Regions from separate parts of the Homo sapiens genome. Here all the other regions are linked to region 1. The links are contacts of gene promoters, found by promoter capture Hi-C in blood cells and fetal thymus (Javierre and others, 2016). All regions are on one chromosome and are shown on one strand. Each heading gives the region's core, a stretch centred on a gene start or on the middle of the fragment in contact. The rest is flanking DNA. Distances are from core to core; before and after follow the strand shown.

Region 1 (7,427 bases), core at 757-3,256:
TAGCTATTTATCCTGATGCTCTCCCTTCCCCTAACCCCCAACAGGTCCCGGTGTGTGTTGTTCCCCTCCCTGTGTCGATGCATTCTCATTGCTCAGCTCCCCCTTATTACTGAGAACATGCGGTGTTTGGTTTTCTGTTCCTGTGTTAGTTTGCTGAGGATAGTGGCTTCCACCTCCATTCATGTCCCCACAAAGGTCATGATCTCATTCCTTTTTACGGCTGCATAGTATTCTAAGAGTGGCATGAGATGATTTTTAAAATAGTAACATCTTTTTTGTTTTTTAAAAAGGATCACACGAGCAGCTGTGCAGAATGTGGGAAACCAGCTAGAAGGCACTGCTTTAAAATGGACGGGTGGCGGGGAAAGAGGGGTGGAGGGAGGAGGAGGGGTAGCAGTTGGGTTCTGGTTGTTTCGGGCAGTGGAGCCAAGAGGATGTGTTCATTGTGGACAGAGAGAGGAGCCAGGCATGACCAAGGATTTTGGACTGAGCCATTGGAAGCAAACAGCTCCAGAATAACGGCCGTTTGACTTGTGTGTGATTTTCTGTAGTTTACTGAATGCACGTTCTAATCCTTGGTCATGATTTCCACGTGTACAATATGAAGGTATTTGAAAACGTCTGAAACATTCATTTTCATTACTAACCACCACCACTTGCCCCAAAGCCTTTGTATGCAACACACGGACCTTTCCTGTTGGGGCGATGTTTGAAGGGTCAAGTGCTTAGTAATGTCTACTCATCTGTGCTGGAGACGAGGGGGTAGCATTTACAACACGCCTGTACGAAGGCCAGGTCCCGTTCTACTTAAAAGGCTTGGAGCCCGGGCGCCACTGGGCTAAGGCAGCTTCAGGGCCCTGGCCCGGGAGTGCATTTGCGGGGACTCCGCCTGAAGACAGGGCGGCAGCCGCGGGGCCTCACGTCGCCCAGGCTCGCGGGGCACCGCGATGATCAACGACACTGGCGTTTGCTTTGGACCTCACAGGATGTGTGGTTGGCGCTGTATTCCAAACAGTGCCACTGTCAACCCGGCTTCCATCGCGCTCGGGACACCGGGATGGCAAACGGCAGGCTGTGGATGGCGGGCGGTTTCCCACTGACTCCTGCCCGCTCGGTGCAGCTGGAAAAACCGAAGCCGGGGGCCGGACGCGCCGCCCACCAGCCGTTCCTCGGCTAGCACTGCCCATTTTGCCCAGGGAATTAACTTGGAAGTTTTCACTTCACTTTTCGCATAGAAAATCATTTTAAAAAGCAAACCAAACGCCTGTAAGCAGACCCGCTAGGGAGCAGGACTCTGCCGCGTGTCCTTCCCGGCTCCGGAGCGGCGGAGCCAGCCACCCGGCACGGCACGCTGGCCGCTCACCCCGCGAGGTGCAGGGAGCACGTGGGCCGACGCGCGGACCCCAGAGAGCGCAGCGTGACCTGCTGCACGGACCCTCGGATGAGAGACCTGGGGCGGGATCTGCGACCGGGGCCCGCCCTTACGTCAGGAGGGAGGGCCGGCCGGCGGGGGAAGCGCCTGCGGTGGCGTCCGCTGCCCCCGCCCGGCTGCTCGGAAACTTCCACCGGCGGCGGTGACGGCCACGCTGCCCTGCGCACGCGCAGCGCGGCTCAGGCGGCAGCCCGGTGACACCGGCCCTAGCGCGCATGTCTGCACGCCGGGGTCTGCGCGCCGCGGCGGGCCGAGGGCGGCGTGCGGGCCTTCCAGCCGCTGCCTATTCCACCCAACGCCGGCCTAGTCAGTAATGGCTCAACGCCACCGCCTCTCCCTCCAGCCCCTCCCAGTCGCGTAGCTTCTGACGCCGTCCTCACCCCGCCCGCGGCCGACGGGGCCCCAACGCGCAGGCGCGGTAACCACGGCGGCAGTGTCTAGTGAGGATTTGAAATCGGTCGCGCGTGCGCACCGGCGACACGGCCCGGCGACCGAGGCCGCGCTTCCTCCTGCCGCCCCCGTCCCCGCCCCCTCCCCCGCCCCTCATTGGAGCGGACGCGGCGGCGGCCCCCTCCTTCCCCCGCGCTGTCGCCGCCGAGAGTGTCTTTTCACCGCCGCCGCCGCCGCCGCCGCAGGAGCGCCGAGCCAGCGGCGCGAGCGTGACTGAGGGCTAGCCGCACGGGCGGCGGCGCCTCCCGCGGGTCCTTCAGCCGCTCGGCGCCTGGGCCCGCCCCCTCGGCCCCGCCGCCCGCCCTTCTCCGATGGCCTCTCCCCGCGGCCCGAGTGGAACGCCGCCGCCGCCGCGGCCCCCGCGCCCGCCCCGCGCCGCGTGAAGCGGGAGCCCGGAGACCGCAGCCGCCCGCTGGGACGCGCCAAGCGCCGGAGCCGCCCGCCGCGGCCTGCCGGGGCCCATCACCGCCGCCGCCGCCCCACGCCGGAGCCCGACGGGAGCGCGGCTAGAGCAGGAGGCCGGGGCTCGGCCCGCCCGCCGCCGCCGCCGCCGCCGCCGCCACCGGCCCAGGCCCGTCCGTCCGTCCGTGCGCGCGCGGCCGGGCCTCGGGGCGCGGCGGGGGCGGGGCCGCGTCGGGGCGGGCGGGCGCGCGGGCCCCGCGGGGGCGGCGCGTGGATGGATCCGCGCGTGGCCTGGATCCAGCCCGAGCAGAAGGGGCCGGCCAATGCCCTGTGGATGCAGATCTGGGAGACCTCGCAGGGCGTGGGCCGCGGCGGCTCGGGCTTCGCGTCCTATTTCTGCCTCAACTCGCCGGCGCTGGACACGGCGGCCGCGGCGGGGGCGGCCGGGCGGGGCAGTGGCGGCCTGGGCCCCGCGCTGCCCGCCGCGTCGCCCCCGCCGCCCGGCCCCACCGCGCCCGCCGCGCTGCCCCCCGCGCTGCTGACGGCGCTGGGGCCCGCGGCCGAGGGCGCGCGGCGCTTGCACAAGTCGCCGTCGCTGTCGTCCTCGTCGTCGTCCTCCTCGTCCAACGCGGAGTCGGGCACCGAGAGCCCCGGCTGCTCGTCGTCGTCCTCCAGCAGCGCCTCGCTGGGCCGGCCGGGCGGCGGCCGCGGCGGCGCCTTCTTCAACTTCGCCGACGGCGCGCCCAGCGCCCCTGGCACAGCCAACGGGCACCCCGGGCCGCGCGGCCCCGCGCCCGCCGGCTCCCCGTCGCAGCACCAGTTCCACCCGGGTCGCCGGAAACGCGAGAACAAGGCCAGCACCTACGGCCTCAACTACCTGCTGTCCGGCAGCCGCGCGGCCGCTCTCAGCGGAGGGGGCGGCCCCGGGGCCCAGGCGCCGCGGCCCGGCACCCCGTGGAAGAGCCGCGCGTACAGCCCGGGCATCCAGGGGTGAGTGCGCGGGGAGGCCGCGGGGGCGGGGGCGGGGCCCATGGTCCTGGCCGGCGCCCGCGGTGCAGACACCCGTCCCAGGCGCCCGGGCTTTTGGAGGATGGATGTTGAAGGCTAAGGCCAAGGCCCGACTCTGCACTGAAAGTTTTTTTTTTAAACATCAGACTCATTTATCGTGGAGTGACTTGCCCAGATCCTACAAGTAACAGTCCAAGAAAAGGGGCTGCTGGGTAGGACCTGCAGGTATTTGTCTTTTTTACTCTTGAGATTGGAACGGGAAATCGACTCTCTACCCCTCCACCCCGCCTCCGGGCAAGTGAGGAACCCCTTGTCAAAGTGGGGCGTAGATAAGTGTGGAGTTTCACGTAAGTTAAGTTGCAGAATAATTTAGCATTGCCAGGAACTCGAATCACGTCGAAGGTAAATATTAACCTTTTTAATTTCATTTTTTAAAAAAATTTAACTGTCAACTTAGAGGTGATTCATTTTTTGGGGGGTGTTGTGTCCTTTAATTTTGTGCTGCAATTACCATAAGCATCGCCTATGGTTTATAAACATTGGCTTAATTCAAAGAAAAAACCAGATTTGTCATATATGTCTATTCTTTGGAAGGTGCCATTTTTATTTTAAATATTTCTACATCCGCCTAGAGGGAATTAGAGGCTCTACTTAAATTTAGTGCACTTACAGACGGCAAGGAATGAAACGAAAGGTGGTGTGTGTTTCGGGGTTGGAATTGTCCCAGGTGAGGCTGTTCAGGTGTGATGCTGTTGACGCAGCCCCTTTGCCATTTTGGGCTTTTCTGAGCGTCTGGAAGCAATTTATGTGTAGGTTGTATGTCAGTATTTTAAGACTTAAATGATAATTTTTCCTTGCACAATTTTTCCCCCCAATTTAAAAAACAATTAAGGATTTGCTGGGGTATGAGGGTTGTTGCATGCAGTAGAGTCCTACAAATAACCACAATTGCTAGGTGTTGGGAGTTCTTATAGTAAACTTTTGCTTGTAACTCTTTTTCTCATTTGAAGTATGTTGGGAAACACGAGTTGATACTTCTTTAAAGCGTGTGATACACTGTAATAGCTGCATGTTCTGTAACTTATTTCACCTGGCTTGGGCTACAAGCGATACCTTCTAAATTTCCCGAAGTGTAAACATGCAGTGCAGACGCCGGCAGGAGCGCAGACTCCTCTTCTCTCCCTCCAGTTCTTACCTGTAGAACTTTCTGAGAGCAGGTGGTTGGGAGCAGTTTCTTCTTGATGAATAGCAATATATACCTAAGGGCTCGCTTGGGGAGGACCTTTAGGTTTCCAGCCTGTTATGTAACTGGAATGGACTCCGTTTCTCTTAGCACTAGAAAAAACAGGAAGACACGTGGTCTCTGCCAGTCTTGGGTTGTACCTCTGCTCTTAGAAAGTGGTAGCGCATCAGGTCCCATGCACCTCACTTGGGCTCCCCGAGCTGTTTCCTCCAGGTAACTCTAGTCAGGCTCAGTAGGTGGTGTTGCTTTTGTTAGTGAATGAGCCCACTAGGATCAGGTGCTGTGCTAGGATCTGGGGATCTGGGGCAGGGACGGCATGGGAGACACAGTCTCATGATCTTGACCCACCCTGAAACCTGCCTGCAAGTGCCCCCTGCCTAGAGCACAAGAGTACCCTGCTCAGTTGTGCAGGTCCCCTCTCACGCTCTTCGTCACCCACGTCCAGTCTCTCATCACATGCTGTTCGTTTGGCCCTTTTAATCTCTCCACACCTCATCCTCCCTCATGCAGGCTCTTGTTACTTCTGTGGAGATTGCTCAAGCAGCCGGAGGTGCCTTTGATGCACTCTGGTCCTGCTTGAGTCCTTTCCCATCACAGGTAATGGGGCAATCTTCTCTGCCAGCAGGTCTGGTCAGATTCCCCTTCACCCTGTGATGTCACCTCCCCCATCTCCAATCCCCCACATTAAAGACTAAAGCCTAAAACTCAGCAACACCTCCAGGGCTCTGCTGCTCAGATGCCCCTAGGTCCTGGCTCCTGGCCCCACCCCTTGCCAACCCGTTAGAACCTAGCTGTAAGGCAGTATGGTGTAGGGCATGAGAGGGCTCTGAAGCCCACCAGGAGGTCTGGTTTGATACTGCAGTCATGCTCTTGGAACTTTCCTTTTCCCCTTTGCTGGAGACCTCTCCTTGCCTGTCTCTGGGTGGTGTGTACCATGCCTCCAGTATGGCCTTGGGTGCATCCGCTTCCTGCCGTCTCTGCCCAAAGGGGCCTGTGAGGACCACCTGCTCTGTGCCCAGAAGGGCACGGTGACCTCTGCTTGGGCTGCTATTCCAGCTACTCTTTCAGAAGCAAACCTAAGCTGTGGTAGAGTTGGGCCTGTGGCTAGAGGAGGTAAGGTCCCCCCTGTGATCATTTCCACATGGCCTGTTGGTCCTATATAAACTAACCTTTTTGTATCAATAAATAGTTCTGTCTAGAACTTGCTTCTGGCCATCAGCTTACCCAGAGTGTTGAGAAAGGCCACCAAAAAGTCTTTCGGTTGTGGCTTAGCTAAGGAAATAACTGAGTTTTAAAGGCTCACCTGGGCTGGCCAATAGTAAAGGACCTTGTTGCTGAGAAGCTGCTTGGGGTTGTGATATAGTCCCAGGACATGCACTTCTGAAAATGCAGTGTGTATTCCTCATGGGAGGATGAGCCTGCTGTGGAGCATTGGCTGAACCCAGTTGGGTCTTTGCCTGGTAGCCCATGTGGCAACCCTCACTGTTTGTCCTTTTCTGGGGAGGAGTTTTCTGCCCTTGGACACTTTGCCTGGTGGCTTGGCCTTGTGAGACTGCCAGTCTGCCTTCTGCTTCAAGTAGGATGAAGAAAAAGCAGGTGAAAGAGGACAGGGATTGGTGCAAGAACCTTCAGAGGAGAGGAGGTGAAATGCTTCTTTTGGCTCTGGTTCTTGAATCATTGTTTGATTGAAATCTCAAGCCTTTGTTTTGGGAGTGGTGTGCTTAGCGTGAGCTGTGCTATCTACCTGGGCTTCTGACCTAGAGATGTTGGGCAGGTGTTTGGACAGGCCCTGGGCCCTTTGCATCCCAGCCTCTGGCTGCTGTCACTTGCAAGTGCTCTCATCCCCTGACCCAGCAGGGCTTTGGGCTGTTGTTACTTTGTCATGGTCGTTCTAGCAGCTTTGGAAACCTCTTCAGGTTAAGAGTCTTGCATAAGTGAGAGTGGGAGCATGGCCCTCAGATATTTGGCCACATCCTTACTGGTGTGTTACAGAGACCCAGGAAGAATGTAGTTGAACGAGGACACATGCAGGTGTCCCGGGCCCTGAACAGCTTCTATTCAGAGTTTGGCCTTTCGAAGGCTGTGCCATCTCAGGTGTGCCTGCAGTGTGCAGCAGGTGTATGCAGCTTCCTCTTTGCAGGTTTCTTGGTATTTAATCTCATCCTTTAATATCTTCTATTAACTCAAAGGAAATTCTGTTCTTAGTTTGAAGTCTGAGAGAGACCGACGACTGTCGGCATAGGACATGGTCAGCCATGCCCCGCAAGGCGTCTGGTGAGAGTCGTTTCCAACTTGGTGCATGTTTTTCTCAATTCTTTCTTGCGAAGGAGTCACAGCTTGGAGGCGCAACCAGGATCCCCCCTCTCCCTCTAGCCTGACCTCACTGACATAAAGTAGAGCAGGTGTGACCTGTCCGGAACATCCTTGTGATGCTCAGCAGGGCCTGCTGCAGAGCACGGGAGGCATCACTCTAGGGGCCTTTCCCTCCCATACTTTCCTGTGAGTGTCCAGGATGCATGAGAGAGGTTGTTGTGAGACCTGCCTTAAAGGGTGGCGGTGGCACGTGTGGACCTTGCTTTCTGAGTTTCACTCTCCGAGTCCCAGAGGTATAAGCTTGTGAAGAGAAGCGTGTATGTATGATCACACTAAGCAGATACTTGCTCCTGCACTGTTGGAGGAGGAAGAGGAGTTAATTTCATCAATTAACTCTTCCAACACTCCTTCCATTTAGTAATAGCATCACTTGTTCCTGTCTTTTGTTCCATGGCCAAGCTCCACAAGGTGAAATTGAAAATCGAGTGCAAGACACTGGCTGTGCTGGAGTTGAGGAAAGTTTTGCTGGAGACCTGCTTGCACCATATGTCTGGTCACTGATAGATGAGGACTGGCCAG
Region 2 (6,962 bases), core at 147-2,646, 1.0 Mb after region 1:
TACCAGTTGTTTCCATTGCAAGTGGATCAAAACAAGGGAAGAAAAAAAAAAGGAAAGAGAGAGGGAAGGAAGAGAAGCTGGCTGATATTTTTGGTGGAGCATGTATGAACATTTTGTTTTTCTGAGGAAGATCTGCATGTACTGGATTAAGAACATTGGGATTCATCCCACGTTTTTCCTACCACACCCCACTGCTCGTTGTCCCCATCATCAATTCTATGATAGGATTTTCCTTTTTTTTTTTTTTTTTTTTCTGAGACACAGTCTTGCTCTGTCACTCAGGCTGGAGTACAGTAGTGCAATCTCAGCTCACTGCAACCTCTGCCTCCCGGGTTCAAGCAGTTTTCCTGCTTCAGCCTCCTTAGTAGCTGGGATTACAGGCACCCGCCACCACACCCAGCTTATTTTTGTCTTTTTAGTAGAGACAGGGTTTCACCATGTTGGCCAGGATAGTCTCAAACTCCTGACCTCATGATCTGCCCATCTCAGCCTCCCAAAGTGCTGGGATTACAGGCGTGAGCCACAGTGCCTGGCTAGGATTTTCCTATATATTTCTTCTTTTATTACATCTCCCACTGCATTTAGTATCAATCCCTTGTTTGTTAATGGATGAATGTGATATTCACATCCAAGTGCATTTCTAGAAGGTACACGGTGAGCTCACTGTAAGTAAGAGCCGATCATGGGGTTCAGTGAGATGATCAAGGAAGGGAGGAAACAGATGTGGTTGAAATTATGCCAGGAGTTAAACCAAAGATCAAAGAAAATGACTCCACTGACTGGGCTCACAGCAGGCATTTTCTCATTTTCAGTTGAATAGTATCTTCCAAATAAAGGCCAAAATATTTTTTGAGATGTTGTCATTTATAACATTTAATTAGGATGGTCGGAATTTTGATAAACATTTTTCCACCAGAGCCTTTAATACTTAATCAAAAACAGGATAAACTGAAGCCAATGATCATATCAAGAGCCAAGTTGTAATTTTTCTACAGAGCTACACACTGAATCAAGGGTCTCCATTTTTCTTAATCAGGTTCCTTCCATTTTAGAATCTTAGTCCTGTTTCTCCTCTTATCCCCATCATTGGTTTCTTCTGCTCCCCCCACCAGCTTGATCCTCCACTTCCTCTTTCATCCCTGTCATTGCAACTGTCACCTCTCTGTTCTCTTCTACTTTCTTGTCCTTGCCAGCAGCAATGCCTACCAATTTTTACACTTCAGAACAGGTTTACTTACCTTGTCACTGCTTGGTGACAAGGAAAGATACCGCCTGTCTCCCTGACCTCTGGAACAACACATTTGGCATAAGTTTTAAAACAATTGTGAGGGAGAACTTTGAGGTATGCATGGAAAATGCATGGGTGAATAATTGAACCAAGCGCATCCTGAACCTGTTGTGCCAAACCCATGTCTGCCAAACCCCCATGCGTCTAGTAAGTAGCTGCAAGTGCTGCCGATTCGTCATTTTGCCTGGCATGTCACACGAACAGAAAAAAATTCCTGCATATCTGCCCGGGTCTGTTTTAGTAAGTTACTAGCCTATGAGCAGAATATAACATATTCCTATTAGATTAGCATATTTGACAAGATTATCACCACGTATTTTTCTAAATCTTCAAACACAGTAACTTGTTTTAATTTTGTAATTTCAAAAATTTGTCTGTGTAATAACTAGCTAATATTTTACCTAATTGACAGTGATATGCAATCTTAGCTAGATGTACATTTTCCCCTGAAGTAATAAACTTTTTAAATGTTCTACTGTTAACATTTTCATTATCATATCTATTGATAATTTCTGTGTACAGAAATTATCATAATTTCACAAATATAAGAGCATTGATTTTAATAATTTTCTCTTAAAGGTACTAACTGTAGTCAATCTGGATGTGAATATATAAATACTGTCTTAATTTGTGAGAATCAAACCAAATGCCATTATCTAATGGAATCTGAGCTAGATGAGCATAATATTTCATTTGAAGCTCGGCTCTTCATATTGTATTATAGGTTGGTGCAAAAGTAGTTGCGGTTTAAAGGTAATGGCAAAAAACAAAACAAACAAACAAAAAAAACTCAGCTACTCAGGAGGCTGAGACAGGAGAATCGCTTGAACCTAGGAGGCGGAGGTTGCAGTGAGCAGAGATCGTGCCATTGAACTCCAGCCTGAGTGGTGAGAGAGCAAGACTCCGTCTCAGGAAAAAAAAAAAGAAAAAACAAAACAAAACAAAACAAAAAACCTTCTTCTACGGAACACAGATCTGACTGTGTTTTGTGATATTAGTATTATTAGAAGTAGCATGCATTAAACAATAATGATAACCATTCGTGGGTGGATGTTCTCTGGCTACCTGACCCTCTAAGATGCTGCATGTTCAGAGCATTAAGGGACATCTTGCTGCATGACAGATTTCCTGCCATCACCAACCCCTATCCAAACCTGCTCTTAAGTAGAAGCGTCAAGTACAGATCTGGTTCTTCTGTTGCCGGTGATCAGATGTCCTGCAGAGCTGGGCCGAGGGCGCCCCCTGCCGCCAGTCAGCAGTCCAGCTCTGGGCAGCCTGTGCGGCTGAGGGCAGCAGTGGCTCAAGCTCCCTGGTAGGTACTCAGAGAAATGAGACGAGGGCGCAGGAAAATCAGCCCAAGAAGTGAACCCGGAACCTGGTCCTGCGTCTCCCTCAGGGGGGCATGTGCGCTGTACACAAACATTGTTCATCTTTTCCTATCAGGAGCTGGAAGGAAGAAAAAAAAAAACATGGTGGAAAGGAGTAGAGAGGAGGAGATTTTGTTGTTGTTTACATAGATATAAAGGAAATAGGATTTTGGTCACTAAAATGTTTCTAAGAAACATTGTGTTTTCTTCATTGAAATAACAGGAAGAGCTAACACTTGTAAGTCCTGTTGCACGCACCTTCTCTAACTCGTTTAAACCTCTGCAAAGACAGAGGAGGCAGGTACTGTTATTATCCCCGTTTCAGAGAGGAAGAAACTGGGACCCCATTTCAGAGAGGATCATTAATTTGCGCAAGTTTCCCAGCAGTAGAGGTTTGAAGCTAGGCCATGGCTGATTCTTTAACCTTCTCAACTCCTCTCTCCTGTGTTTAGACGATCATTCAACTGTTGTATCAACATTGAACATACAGCAATGCTTAGGGCAACAATAATTTTAGGAACAATACAAAAATAAGATGTGAAAGAAGTAGAGAACTGAAAGCGCAGCCTATTTGTGCTGTTCAGGAATATTCTTTATTTGAATTTGAATTTCACTGATGTCACACCAGCTTTGTTTGCCAATAGGTTAACTTGGTAGTATCGATCAAAGGGCATAATTTATGTTATTCCTTCTTCTGAATTTCTTGAAATCATCACCTTGTTTTGTTTCCAAGACACATAGCCTTGGGACCACAGGCCCGTTAGTGTGAAGATAACAATGTCAATCCCTGGAGGACTTTTACTTCCTGCTTCTCATATCAGATAACGTATGCAAATTATGCCCACGCAGCATCTGCATAGGCAGAGTTGATGTCACCCACAGTTCAGTGGAACTCTGTGTACTGCTCCACACTCATACCTGGGAGAATATGGTGAGAATCCTTGGAAAGGTGGCCCTCAAGATGGGTGAGCTTATGCACTGAGACCCCATGGTGAATGGGGAGCAAATGCTGGCTGTCGTTCCCCAAAGATCTCAATTCCTTCTTGTATCAAAAAAGTTTCCCCAACCCCGATATGTATAGCCGCATATTCACAACAGCCAAGAGGTGAAGCAACTCAGTGTCCATTTTATGAATGGATAAAAAAAAGTATAGATCCATACAATGGAGTTTTATTCAAGCTTTAAAAAAGAAGGAAATCTTGGCATAATGCTACAACATCGTGATCTCTGGTGACATTATGCTGAAAGAAATAAGCCAGTCACAAAAGGAGAACTACTAGATGGTTCCACTTATAGGAGGTCTTAGAATAGTCACAGTCATGGAAACAGGAAGGGGAATGGTGGTTGCCGGGGGCTGGGAGGAGGGAGGAACGGGGAGTTGTTTTTCCATGGGTATAGAGTTTCAATTTGGTAAGACTGAAAATCCTAGAGATGTTACACAACAATGTGAATGTGGTTGTCACTACTGAACTGTACACTTGAAAATGGTTTAAAGGGCACATTTTATATTATGTGTTTCTAACACCGTTAAAAATTGTTTGGAGGGAAAAAAGGAGCTTCTCCGTGTGGGAGAAAACCCCCACAAGACCAGACGAGACCACACAAAGCCATCAAGCCTCGTGCCTGAGATTTTCAGACACCGTATTTGTAAGTTCAGGCGCCAAACTAAGTCTGTGGCCTGGGCTGTATTCTTGTAATCTGCTAATGCAGTGTTAAAAGGGTTAGGAGATGTGTTGATCGCTTGCCACATAAATCAGCTGAATAAATGATAACTTTCATCATAGCTGTGATCAGAGACCCAACACATCCCCCAGGGTGATTTAATTAACTGACATTTTTCCTTTGAGAAAGGAATCACTTAAAAACATAATTTCAGGTCTGTTTTAAAAGACATACAAGCACATTGTACCTTTGTCATAGGCATTTAATTTGTTCTCAATTGGTAGCAATGATGCCAACATAATTTTAATAAGGTTTGTGACTTCGTATGGGTCCCCAGGGGAGGATAGAATCTACATGTTTAGTCTATGAACAATGTTGGTGCTTCTTGTGGTTGTAAACATTGTCATCAAGAAACTGGAGAGAAGTCATCAGCTAGCAATGCTTCTCTTTTTCTTTCTCTCTTCTCCTAGCAATGCAGCAAAAAAGCCTCTCCCCTGCTCATGTGGCTTTTGAAGTCCTCGGGCATCATTGCCAACCGCCCCTGGCCACGGATCTCTCTCACGATCATCACCACAGCCATCATATTAATGATGGCCGTGTTCAACATGGTAAGTCCCAGAGCACGGCCGTGTTCAACATGGTAAGCCCCAGAGCATGGCCGTGTTCAACATGGTAAGCCCCAGACCACAGCCGTGTTCAACATGGTAAGCCCCACACCATAGCTGTGTTCAACATGCTCAGCCCCGGGGTGAGTCAGGGCTCACAGCAGGCAGGGCGTTCTTCCCTTCTGGGACCTGTTCTGTGGAATTTTGGAAACTTGCATTTGGCTCCTTTGCAACACCAGTTGCTGCCTATTAAATTTAGCATCTCTTGGCTACAGCAGTCATTTCTCTAAGGAAAGGGGTGCTTTCACAGAGCCACCTTGAGAGACTGGGTGACTCCTTGGATCAGTTCCCCACTTCCTTGCTCATGGTGGCCCCTCAACAGGCTACAGAAATAACTGCAATGTCTTAAGGATAGTCATGAGGGACAAAGGAACCCTCAAACTAAGGAGAGTGCGGTGTCCTGCCCTGGAGTTTAAATGATGCGATTGCAACCCCTTGCTCCCCGTCTCACCAGCTGCACGACTAGAAAGACGTTTTCATTGAACTCCACAGGCTCCATTTTCACTTCTTTGAAAGTGGGAACCAAGACTTCTCTACCAAGGTGGTTCTAAGGATTCAATGAGCCAGTGTTCCCACCACACTTAGGACAGTCCTGGCCATTTTGTAACTATTGAACCAATGGCCACTCTGACTATATCAGTCTCATCAGTGCCGGTTATCTCCCCCACAATAGACACTTGGCTCATCAGGGTGCTTTGAGACACGTCCTTATTGTTCTCACATCAGCAGCAGCAGCTGTAGGAGATCTGATGCTTCCTGTAGTGGAGGCTTCACTCACTGTGGGAAATGCAGTGTTAGGAGATGTAGTCCTTGCCTTCCAGGGACCCAAAGCCAGGTTGTGGTGACAGACCATATATTATTTCATAATAATAACGTCGTTTTTATAAAGTAGAAAGCATTCATGCAGCAAAATGTAATATTTATTGTATATAAAGATGTGTCTGGTATGTGCTGCATGCTCAGACCCCAAAGACAGTTCTCTGCCTTCCAGGAGTAGGAGTAGGAGACAGACAGCTGGGTAACCTCATCATCAAGTCATTCTGAAATGAGGAGGTGAAGGCAGCAACAGAGGCATGAGGGGAAGGGAGAGCAGGGCCTGCTCGATGGAATCCTGGAGGGCGGAAAGGAGGAGTCTGCCACATGGGCCTGGAGGAAGTGAGGGGCAAGGGCAGGTGGGCGGAAGGGGAGAAGGTGGGATGTTTGCATCTGGGACAAGAGTAGAAATTCATATTACGAAGTAGAGAAAAACAAGGCTGAAGAAGTGGGTTAGGACCTTGAATGTTTACATGGGGTCAGTCCTCCAGGTCACGCGAGAGATCGTAAATTCCTCTCAAACACCTGCAGATTCAGGTGAGGGTGATGCCACCTGGACCCCAGATGGGCCAAGCACTAGCAGCAGGGGTGGGATGGCCTCTCCATCGCTTTGTGTAGCCTGGAAATTGATCTTAGTGACACCTGCAAAGGGGCCTTCAGAGAGAAGCTGTAGCTTGTCCTCCCTGCTGTCTAGAGGTGAATGTGTGCAATTCCCATAGGTTTTCCTGTGTCATGAGTTTGGGGACAAGTATGCTGGCAGCCCTACCTCACCTGCCTGTGTGTCCCAGCTCCATTTCAGGAGCTCCCCAAGAAAGAACATGAGGCCAGCCCTGATGTGGGCTCCCCAGGCATGCGGGCCACTGAAAGGTGCCACCACAGCTACCTCCTCCAGCCACCTGCTCAGCCTCCAGAGCAGCTAGTTCAAAGGCTCATCTGTTGCTGGGGAAGGAGGGGCTCACCAGGCAAGTCCATGCAGGCCACAGCCTCCCAGGGCTAAGGCAGGCCCTTGGCTGGCAGTCCCCTGTGGAGAGGTCCTGACAGGCCAGGTCCACCGCTGGAAGCCCTCCTCCTGCCCTTCTGTAAGATGAGCGAGTGGCACGAAGTGGGTCTCCCCTTCTTCTTAGGTGTTTGCATCACCCGAGGCTCATTTTCTGCTGCAGGGATCAT
Region 3 (7,030 bases), core at 145-2,644, 1.2 Mb before region 1:
CAGACATTCGGTTCATTACTCGGTCGTTATACACTCTTCTAAAACCAGTGATCCTGCTAAGAGAACATAACAGGTGTCCTTGACCTACCAAGTCAAATATACATAAGCAGGTTCACTCCTTTGCACTCAGTGCAGGAAATTCAGGCTGCCCTAACTCCATTTAGCTTCCTCCCACCTTATGTATTATTATGGCCATTTATTTTAATTCTGCATTATTGTCGTTTTAATCAACAATTCTGTTTAGATTTACTCACATATTTCAAGCTTCACCTCTCTTCCTTCTTCAGGTTTTAGCAGCAGATGAATACATTTCCTTGAGCATTTTCTTCAGTGTGGTTCCAATGCTGACACATTCTGTCAATTTTGTTTGTCCCAATGTGTCTTAATTTTACTTTTGTCTTTGAGATATATTTTTCTAGAACCTAACTAAATTTAAAATCTTGTTGTTTTTTTTTTTGAATTTGAAGATATCTTTTTATTCTCTTCTGGTTTTTATATCATTTCGAGTGAGACATTTGTTTTAAGTCTTATGGAGACCACTTCGAAAGTAATTTTCTTTTTTTCTCTGCTTGCTTTTTCTTTTGTTTTTAGGGATTTTTCCATCCTGTGTCTAGGTGTGGTGTTTTGCATTTATCTTGTTTGGGGTTTGTAGAACTTCTTGAATATGTGGCTTGAGGGCTTCCATCAATTTTGGAAAATTATTATTTTTTGCTTCTTTATTTTTCTCTTGTGTTTCTGGAAATTCAGTTATAAGTAATGTAGACCATCTTACCACATCTCTGCATCTCTTCTGTTCTTTCTGTAATTCTCATTACATTGTCTGGATAATTCTTTCTGACCTATCTCAGTTTAATAATTTCATCTTTAGCTTTTTATAATTTTCTCTTAAATCCATTAGCATGCTGTTATTGCAGTCCTAGAACATCCACTTGGATTTAGAAAAACAGTTTCTGGTTCTCTACAGGAATTCTCAGTGTAGCCTTTATTTCCTTAAATGTATTAACCCTTGCTATTTTGAAGTCTGTATCTGATAATGCCATTATCTGACTCACTTATGGGTGTACTATTTCTCTTTATTTTAAATAATTTTTTCTTATCTCCTTATGCATAATAATTTTAGACTGGGCATAGGCATTGTATTTGAAAACTTGTAGAGCTAATTTGAGTCTCTGGATGATGCCATCTTTCTACACAGAGGGTTTCAATTGGCTACCAGAGGGTAACTAGGCTAGGGAGTTCGAAGGCCAGGATTACTTTGACTCCTCAGGGATCGGCATGGCTCAAAGCTTGGATACTGATTTTGTCTGAGAGTCAGTGTGTTTCTGGTTGCTCTTAATTCTATAATATAACTCTTTGATGTCCCAGCCTAAATCATAGGTGCTTACCATAGCCACCGTCTGTACCTGAAGTGCCTTAAATTCCAGTTTCTGTCTCTGTCTCTGGGAATCTGTCAAGGGCTCTGTTCATCTTTACTTGTTCTGCAGCTTATTTCAGAATAAAGAGAAGCTTTTAGGGGTAAAATTGGCCCACATGCCAGAAACACCTGTCTATGTTTTATTTTTCTCTCAAACCTTGGCTGGGTAAATTTTTATTACTACATTAGCTTTCTGACACCTTTAAATACATTTGAACAATATTTTCTCAGATTTTCTTCTTGTTCACATTGAGGAGGATTCATCTGATATTAGCAGAGGTGGAAGTCATCTATATAGCGATATCTTAACCGCATATTAGATAAATCTATTTCACAAGAATGTTGTACATATGCACGGGAAAGTATTAGGACCCACCCATGTAGCTAAGCTCCCGAGACCCTGCCCCTCTCCCACCAGCCCTCTCCTCCCTGGTTGTGATCGTGCTAAAAAAGATAGTGCCCGCATAACAATGCCATCCTTTTGCTCTGAAATGTTCACAGCATTGGGACATCTGCCCGCTTTGATGTTTTTCTGTTATTAACTGCCTATGAGATCAGCATGGAGACTGTCATGCCTCAGACACTGCGTGGACCACCTGGAGGTTCCACCTGTGATCCCACCTGCCCTAGAAACTGCAGTCCTGGCCACCACCACCCCTTCCTCCTTGAAGATGGCTTTCATGCTCAGGTTTCATCACAGCCCTCATCCAAGTCTGCCTTGGTTGCAGTGCACATGGCAGCTGATGATTGGAAACCATGCTGGTTCACTGTTACGGCTGTCATTTGCTGGACCATTACCGTGTGCCTGACACTGCCATTAAGTGCTCTCCTTATAGGTCTCGATTACTTCTCACATCATTCAGCAATTTCATCTTTCTATGTCCACTTTACAGATTAGGAAATAGCCCCAGGAGATTAGTTTGATTGCCCAAGATTATACAGGAAGACTGTGGAGGATCCCAGGAGTGGACTCTGGCTGGGCTGACTCCAAAACCTGTGCTTCTGAGCCTTGCGCCTTACTGCTTTGTTTAAGCACTTTGTGCAAAGAAAATCACCTCAGTTTCTAGAAAAGACAATTTAGGGGCAGAGAGGGACTCATCCCCATGTATGAGCAATGTTCAACACTATCTACTTTGATTTTATTTAATAGCACTTTAATCAAGGAAACCCAAACTTATTATCACCTGCAGGTAGACAAGTAGTACATTTTATAGACTTTCTTTACTGCTTTTTATTTGTTTTTGGGTTTTTTTTGGATTTCTTTTTGCTTGAAGATGGATAATTTCAAACTCCCTGGATAAGTTTTCCCTCTGTATATGTGTATAAATGTCATGTACCACAGAATGACATTCCAGTCAACAACAAACCACATACATGAGGATGAGCTCATAAGATTATAACACGATATTTTTACTATACCTTTTCTATGTTTGGATATGTTTAAATACACAAATGCTTATCACTGGGTTGCAATTGCTTACAGTATTCAGTATAGTCACCTGCTGTACAGGTTTGTAGCCCAGGAGTGATACACTGTTCCCTGTAGCCTAGGTGTGTAGTGGGCTGTACCATCAAGGTTTGTGTAAGTCCACTGTATGATGTTCACACAACAATGAAATCACCAAATGACCCATGTCTCAGAACATATCCCAGTTGTCAAGTGACACATGACTGTGTATGTGATGGGTAATTTTATGTGTCAATTTGGCTAGATCATGGCAACCAGTTTTTGGTCAACCTCAAAATGTTGCTATGAGCCTGTTTTTCAGATGTGAGTCACATTTAATCAGTATTCCTGAAACTGTAAAACTGCTAGAAGAAAATAGGGGAAAGCTCCACAAGATTGTTCTGGGCAATGATTTTCTGGATATGACTGCAAAAGCCCAGACAACAAAAGTAAAAAATAGATAAATAGGATTAGATCAAAGTAGAAGTCCCTGCACAGCAAAGGAAACAATTAACAAAGAGGCAACCCACAGTATGGTGTGGTAGAAAATGTTTGTAAACCGTACATATGATAAAGAGTTAATATCCAAAATATACAAGGAATTCAACACCTCAACAGTAAGATGACAAAAAACCCTATTAAAAAGTTGGCAAAGGACCTGAACAGACATTTCTCCAAAGAAGACATACAGATGTCCAATAGATTCATGAAAAATGCTCAACATCACCAGTCATCAAGGGGATGCAAATTAAAGCCACGAGGAAATATCACCTGACCCATGTTAGTATGGCTATAATCAAAAAGATGAAAGATCACAAGTACTGGTGAGAACTCAGAGAAAAGAGAATCCTGGTACACTGTCACTGGGGGAGTAAATGAGTGCAGCCATTATGGAAAATAGTATGGAACTGCCTCAAAAAACTAAAAATAGAACTACCATGTGATTTAGCAATCCCACTTCTGTGTATCTATCCAAAGGACTTGAAATCAGGATCTAAAAGAGACATCTGCACTCCCGTGTTCACTGCAGCCTTATTTACAATAGCCAAGAATGAATGAATTAATTCATTCTTGAATGAATGTAAGTTTCCATTAGACCAAGAAGAAAGACAATGTGGTGCACATACACAATGGAATATTATTCAGCCTTAAAAAAGGAAGAAGGTAATTCTGTCATTTGCAACAAAATGGATGAACCTGGAGGACATTAGGCTCAGTGAAATAAGCCAGGCAGCGAAAGGCAAGTACTATGTGATCTCACTTATATGTGGGATCTAAAACAGCTAAACTCATAGAAAGAGAGTGTAGGACAGTGGTCACCAGAGCCTCAGTGGCAGGAAAGTGAATGGGGAGATGTTGGTGAAAGGGTGCAAAGTTTGGAATAAGTTTTCCAGATCTATCGCCCAGCAAGGTGACTATTGTCAATAAGAATGTACTGTGTATTTCAAAATAGCTAAGAGTAAATTTCAAACATCTTACCATAAAAATGATAAGTGAGATGTTGAATATGTTTATTAGTTTGACCGAATCATTCCATGATATATGTAAATCAAAACATCATATTGCACCCCACAAATGTATATAATTATGATTTTTCTCATTAAAAAACTAATAAAAAGCATTAAATCAGTAGACTGAGAGAAGTAAATTACCCGCTATAATAGGGGTGGGGCTTATCCAATCAGTGGAGGCCTTAGTTGGAAAAGACTGACCTCTCTCAGAAAAAGAGGGAATTCTACCTCTCTATTGCCTTTGGACTTGAGCTGCAACATCACCTCCTCCCTGGATCCCCTGCTTACTGGCCTGCCCTGCACATTTCAGACTTGCCAGCACTTACAAATGAGTGAGGCAATTCCTCCTTAAAATAAATCTCTACCTCTATCTCTATTTCTATCTCTATATGTGTGTGTGTGTGTGTGTGTGTGTGTGTGTATACACACATTACACATCCTATTGGTCTGTTTCTGTGGAGAACCCTGCCTAATGTATTTGTGTGAATGAGTATTTCATTTGTGAGTAGATTATTGAGTCTCAAGCCTTTGTAGACATATTCACATTTAATGCCGCTCATGTCCTGGGGAAAATCTCTGTGAGCAGAGCATGATTTTCTGTGGGCCATTAGAAACAGTGTTCTAGTAGCCCACTATTGAACACTGGAATGGTTTTCCAAAATCTCAATGCATAGTATTATTTTTAAATGGTCAAAAACACTCTGTGGAGCACATGCAAGAATGCTGTATAATAGAATGGTTTCCGAAGCAATGTAGAAGAACTACATGAACTCATGGAATCATGAAAACTTTAAGTGAAGAGAAAAACTTAGGTTCTGGCACCAATCCCTCTCATTTGGAACTGAGAAAATGGGGAACCAATTAGGGCTTGGGACTTACTCAAGACCTCTCTGCAGGGGACTTCATTTCTGACGCTCCCAAAGTAGTCTGTGGGCCTGAAGGCCTTCTGTGTGATGGAAGCTGCCCAGAGCTGCAAAGCTCCCTGAACAGGGCCTGCAGGGGCTGCAGGGGCTCTGCTGGCTTCAGGAGTATGGAGGACCAGCCCACAGATGGTGGCCACCCACTGCTGTAGGCTGTAGTGAAGACCAGGGGTTGGGTGAGTGGACGAGGGTGGTTCTGGATCCTTCAGTCACATCACTATGGATTGAGGGTATAACATTAAGCAACATTTAAAATTTAGCTCCTCACACTAAATACCTAATCATAAAAAAGAGCATGATTTGGAATTTATGCCATGATATTTAACTATGATTTAGATACATGAAAACCACTATTGGGAAAATAGCCATCTGTAGATGAATAATTAGTGTGTGCACTTATAATGAACAAAAATTCTGTTAGAATTCTGAACACAAGGAATTCCTGGAGATGAGAAAAAGCCCCTGGATAAGGAGGAAACTCACTGTTACTGGATATCTCGCCTGGGTTACGCACTCTATATTAATGATTGCATGTCATTTTCACAAAAACTCAAAGAAATAGGTATTATTATACCTGCTTAGAGATTGTGAAAATTAAGCTCAACTGGTTTAAGGAATTCAGCCAGGTTTTTCGAGCTGGTGAAGGTAGCTCATTCCCACTCAACTTTAGGCATGCTAAAAGTAGGCCATCTACCATCTCTTCACTATCACAGGGGTAGGGACACTTCTCATGTAAAGGACAAGACAGCACAGTGTTTAGGCTTTGTGGACTATACAGTGTCTGCTCAACTATCCAATGCTGCCATTGTAACAAGAAGGCAGCCTTGTATTATATAAGCAATATATCAATGAATGAACTTGGCTGTGTTCCAGTAAAACCTTATTTATAAGAACAGGAGGTGGGATGAATTTGGTTTACTGGCTGCAGTTTGCTGACCCGGATCTATCACCTTGTCCTTGAGGATGGTTGACTTAGCTGATGGGCTTTTATCCATCACTGTGTGAATATATATTATGTACCTGTGAATGTTGGATAAACTCCAGCTCATTAATAATGACATTGTTAGTGTCCAGCCAACACTGTGTTTACGGTTGAGAATATGATGCTTTTACTCACTTAAGTCTTACATTGAACAGATTGCTCTTTTGTATTAGTCCATTCTTACACTGCCATAAAGATACTACCTGCAAGCTGTCAGTGGATGTACCTTTCTGGCGTCTTAAGGTTGGTGGCCCTCTTTTCACAGCTCCACTAGGCAGTGCCCCAGTGGGGACTCTGTGTAGCAGCTCCAACCCCACATTTCCCTTCTGCACTGCCCTAGCAGAGGTTCTCCATGAGGGTTCTGCCCCTACAACAAACTTCTGCCTGGACATCCAGTTCCAAAGTCACTTCCATATTTTCAGGTTATCTTTATAGCAGTGCCCCACTCTGCTGGTACCAATTCTCTATTATTAGTCTGTTCTCACATTGCTATAAAGATACTACCTGAGACTGGGTAAGTTATAAATAAAAGAGGTTTAATTGACTCACAGTTCTGCATGCCTGGGGAGACCTCAGGAAACTTACAGTTGTGGTGGAAGGTGAAGGAGAAGCAAGCAAGCACCTTCTTCACATGGTGTCAGGAGAGAGAGGGAGAAGGGGGAGCTGCCAACCACTTATAAACCACGAGCTCTGGTGAGAACTCACTCACGGTCATAAGAACAGCAATGGCGGAAACTGTTCCTGTGATTCAGTCAC
Region 4 (2,918 bases), core at 419-2,918, 1.2 Mb after region 1:
GTACGGTCTTTGCTTGTCCTATTCATGGAAAAGAAGACCTTTTATGTTGATATTCTTGGTACATTGGCCTGGGGAGGGGTGGAGAACTGTCTAGGAAGTATTTAAGGGGGGTGATGAGAGACAGTCTCATTTTATGTTTAAGATGTATACTGCCTCTCAAATAAGTAGTTTTACATTGGGAGTCTGAGGGCAACTAAAGATTAATTTTATATTGTCCAATTTTGGCTAGTAGGGTCCCCGCATCCCTGTTTTTCTGCTTTTGTTATCTGTGGTGTCTGACATCTGAACTTGTGCCATTATTGAGAAGACATATGGCTGTAAATACTTTTACAACACCTAGGAGTAAAAGGTTATGTGATTTTCTCAACAGATTGTGGACACTTTACACTTGGACTCAGTGACATCTTTTTATGTTTTGATACGGCACTCAGCAGAATTTCGAGACCACGTGTGTAGGCAACAGTTTAAAGTTGTCCACAAGAATGGTTGAAATAAAGCAACATTTCAGGCTTTATCATGAAGTCCTCTTTCTTCATAGTAATGAAGAAATCAGTGATTCACTTGGAGTGTTGTCTTAGGAGAAGTTTGGTTTCTTTATTAGAGTTGAAAGGTTCATAGACCTCAATAGTGGGGATTAGGACTTCTTGGGATATACTTGAGAGGATAAGGGATGATTGCTGCTTGAAATTGCCGTTTAACTTGATGTTTTTCCAGTCTGCTGCCTGGAACAGAGAGATGCTTTATTGTGTTCTCTATACATCATGTATTCATTATACATCAAAATATTAGGAACCTTACAGAAACTTTCTTTTTTGAGAAGAAATATTATAGTACTGATATACAAGTATATGTCACTTGGTGATTGTATAAAGATAGCAGATGATCTCCAGAACATTAAAAACAATGTGTGTCCATCATGTATCGTAAACACTAAACATGGGTGCCTTTCACCTACTCCTCCTTTCCTCCCTCCCTCTCTTCGTCCTTCCTTCCCCATTTTAACAGATTTTTATTAACTATCCAATCTATATGCAGTAGAAGTGCAGATATGAAGGATATAATTTAAAACTATCTGAAATTACCTGTGCTTGTGTTGTGTTTTATTACAAATTATACAGAATGTTGACTTTTGCAAGACCTATCACCCACCCTGCCCTACTATGGCGGATAGTACAGTTATTCACAGATTAACCCTGCCACTGATGTTCAGCCTGGCTGTGTGAACAGAAGGACATCTGCCACATCTAAGCAGGAGCACTAAGCCTGTGGGCGTGGTGTAGCTTGGCTCTCTTCTTCCTATCTGCCATGATATTCTCTCCACATAGACCCTCAAGTGAAGCAGTCCCACAGCCTTCGAGGAAGAGAGCCCCAGAACGTAGAAAGTGTGCTGTTGTCACAGGATCTTTGTACATGTGTTTTTCTTTTCTGCCAGGAATATGCTCTGGCATGGCTAACTCCCTTGATTCAGATCGTGGTCAAAGGTCTCATTGTAGACATGGGCCTTCTTTGACATTGGTGTTTGAATTAGCAGCTCACTGCCACACCCATCATTTCCTTATCCTGTGTAATTTTGCTTCCTAAGACATTGGGAAGTCATTACCCATCATTCTGTGGATATATGTGATAATGTGTATGTTTATTTTCTTTTCCTTCCACTAGAATGTAAGTTCCGTAAAGACAGGGGCGTTGTTTTGTTCATTTCTGTATCCTTAATGCCTGTCATGGTGAATACTTTCAGTAAATCTGTTAAATGAATGAAGCAAAGAAGGCTAATGTAATGTTAACTAGTTTCATTCCCAAGTAAGAGCAGTAATGAGACACAGCTTTGCCATTCCTTCATTTAAAAGGTATGGTGTTCAGGCTCGTCATTACTTCCTACAGTCGTCCTTGAGTTAAAAGTTAAAATGTATACAGTTACACCACCATGCAAGGTGGAGGGGAATCCTGTCATTCTTAAATCTTGGTATCAGTATGACTTTTGCATATGACAGTGAAACTGGAAGTGAAACATACTCAGATTGATTCAGAAATATCTTTTGAAATTTTAACAAAAAGATTTTGATAATTATATGATTTGTTTAGTTATAACAAAAATAATTCTGGGTAATATTGGACCCAGAATAGCAAATACAGCACCATTATCTGGAATATTTGGAGCAGCCCCTCAATTTCTTTTTAAGGTGCCTGACTTTTATTTAAAATTTTTCAACCTCATCGTGATGCTAATCTTTATTGTCTTCATATTTAGGGTACATTTCTCCATAATATATGCTATTGTCTGCCCACCAGAAAGCAGATCTTATCCATAGACCAAGAAACATGATTTGATTATCTATTTAGAGTTCTACCTCAAAGACACCATGCCTATCATTTTTTACAACATTTTTTATTTGAATAGAAAAGAAAAATTTGCAAGACAAACTTCTTTCTGTAGTGACAAATGTGCTCATGGTTTCAATAAAATCTGATGCCACTATTTAGTGATGTTTCTTTGATGGGAATTTTCCCTTTCTGATTTGTTTAGCAAAGATCATCTTGATTATATACTCTTGCCTAGGTTTTCTTTCATACTTACCACATTTGATGTAATATTTCAGATATCCATCTCTCCTCGAACAACAAATTCTTTCCACTTACCAGATGACCCCTCAATCCCCATCATAATGGTGGGTCCAGGAACCGGCATAGCCCCGTTTATTGGGTTCCTACAACATAGGTATGTTCTTTTTTTGGCTAATGGGAAAATGTATTCCTGAGTAACCGTTTTTGTTTCTTTAGTCATTTTGAGGATAATTGGACTTTGTAAAATTTTTATTTAAAAAATTATTATTCAATGTGCGATAACATAATTTGTCACCATGGGAAAAGTAAACACAATGTTGTAGAGATTGTGCTTTGTACTAGAACTTCCTTTTTTA

Evidence for each region. The method cuts DNA at HindIII sites, captures the fragments that hold promoters and counts their contacts. A CHiCAGO score of 5 or more calls a contact.
Region 2: a fragment that was not itself captured here is called in contact with the fragment with the promoter of TENT4A in region 1 in 2 of 17 cell types (monocytes and M2 macrophages); the score reaches 8.9 in monocytes.
Region 3: a contact is called between a fragment that was not itself captured here and the fragment with the promoter of TENT4A in region 1, in 1 of 17 cell types (naive CD8 T cells). The highest score is 5.1, in naive CD8 T cells.
Region 4: a contact is called between a fragment that was not itself captured here and the fragment with the promoter of TENT4A in region 1, in 1 of 17 cell types (naive CD8 T cells). The highest score is 5.0, in naive CD8 T cells.

The regions. Positions count from the first base shown.
Region 1 is chr5:6,711,426-6,718,852 of GRCh38, forward strand. TENT4A (terminal nucleotidyltransferase 4A) reads left to right here and starts at 2,007. Exons shown (of 13, transcript NM_006999.6): 1 at 2,007-3,274. The coding sequence starts at 2,559. RefSeq lists enhancers at 1,096-1,155, 4,373-4,422, 4,723-4,782 and silencers at 1,326-1,765, 1,876-2,245, 2,546-2,615, 2,986-3,375. The HindIII fragment of the contact is 9,360 bases long and covers 1-7,146 here.
Region 2 is chr5:7,752,662-7,759,623 of GRCh38, forward strand. It overlaps ADCY2 (adenylate cyclase 2), which reads left to right. Exons shown (of 25, transcript NM_020546.3): 16 at 4,788-4,925. Among named protein-coding and RNA genes, the nearest start is that of CFAP90, 95 kb to the right of the region's middle. The HindIII fragment of the contact is 4,872 bases long and covers 1-3,832 here.
Region 3 is chr5:5,544,393-5,551,422 of GRCh38, forward strand. No RefSeq gene overlaps it. Among named protein-coding and RNA genes, the nearest start is that of ICE1, 130 kb to the left of the region's middle. The HindIII fragment of the contact is 220 bases long and covers 1,285-1,504 here.
Region 4 is chr5:7,893,137-7,896,054 of GRCh38, forward strand. MTRR (5-methyltetrahydrofolate-homocysteine methyltransferase reductase) reads left to right here. Exons shown (of 15, transcript NM_002454.3): 12 at 2,598-2,716. Among named protein-coding and RNA genes, the nearest start is that of MTRR, 25 kb to the left of the region's middle. The HindIII fragment of the contact is 8,378 bases long and covers 1-2,918 here.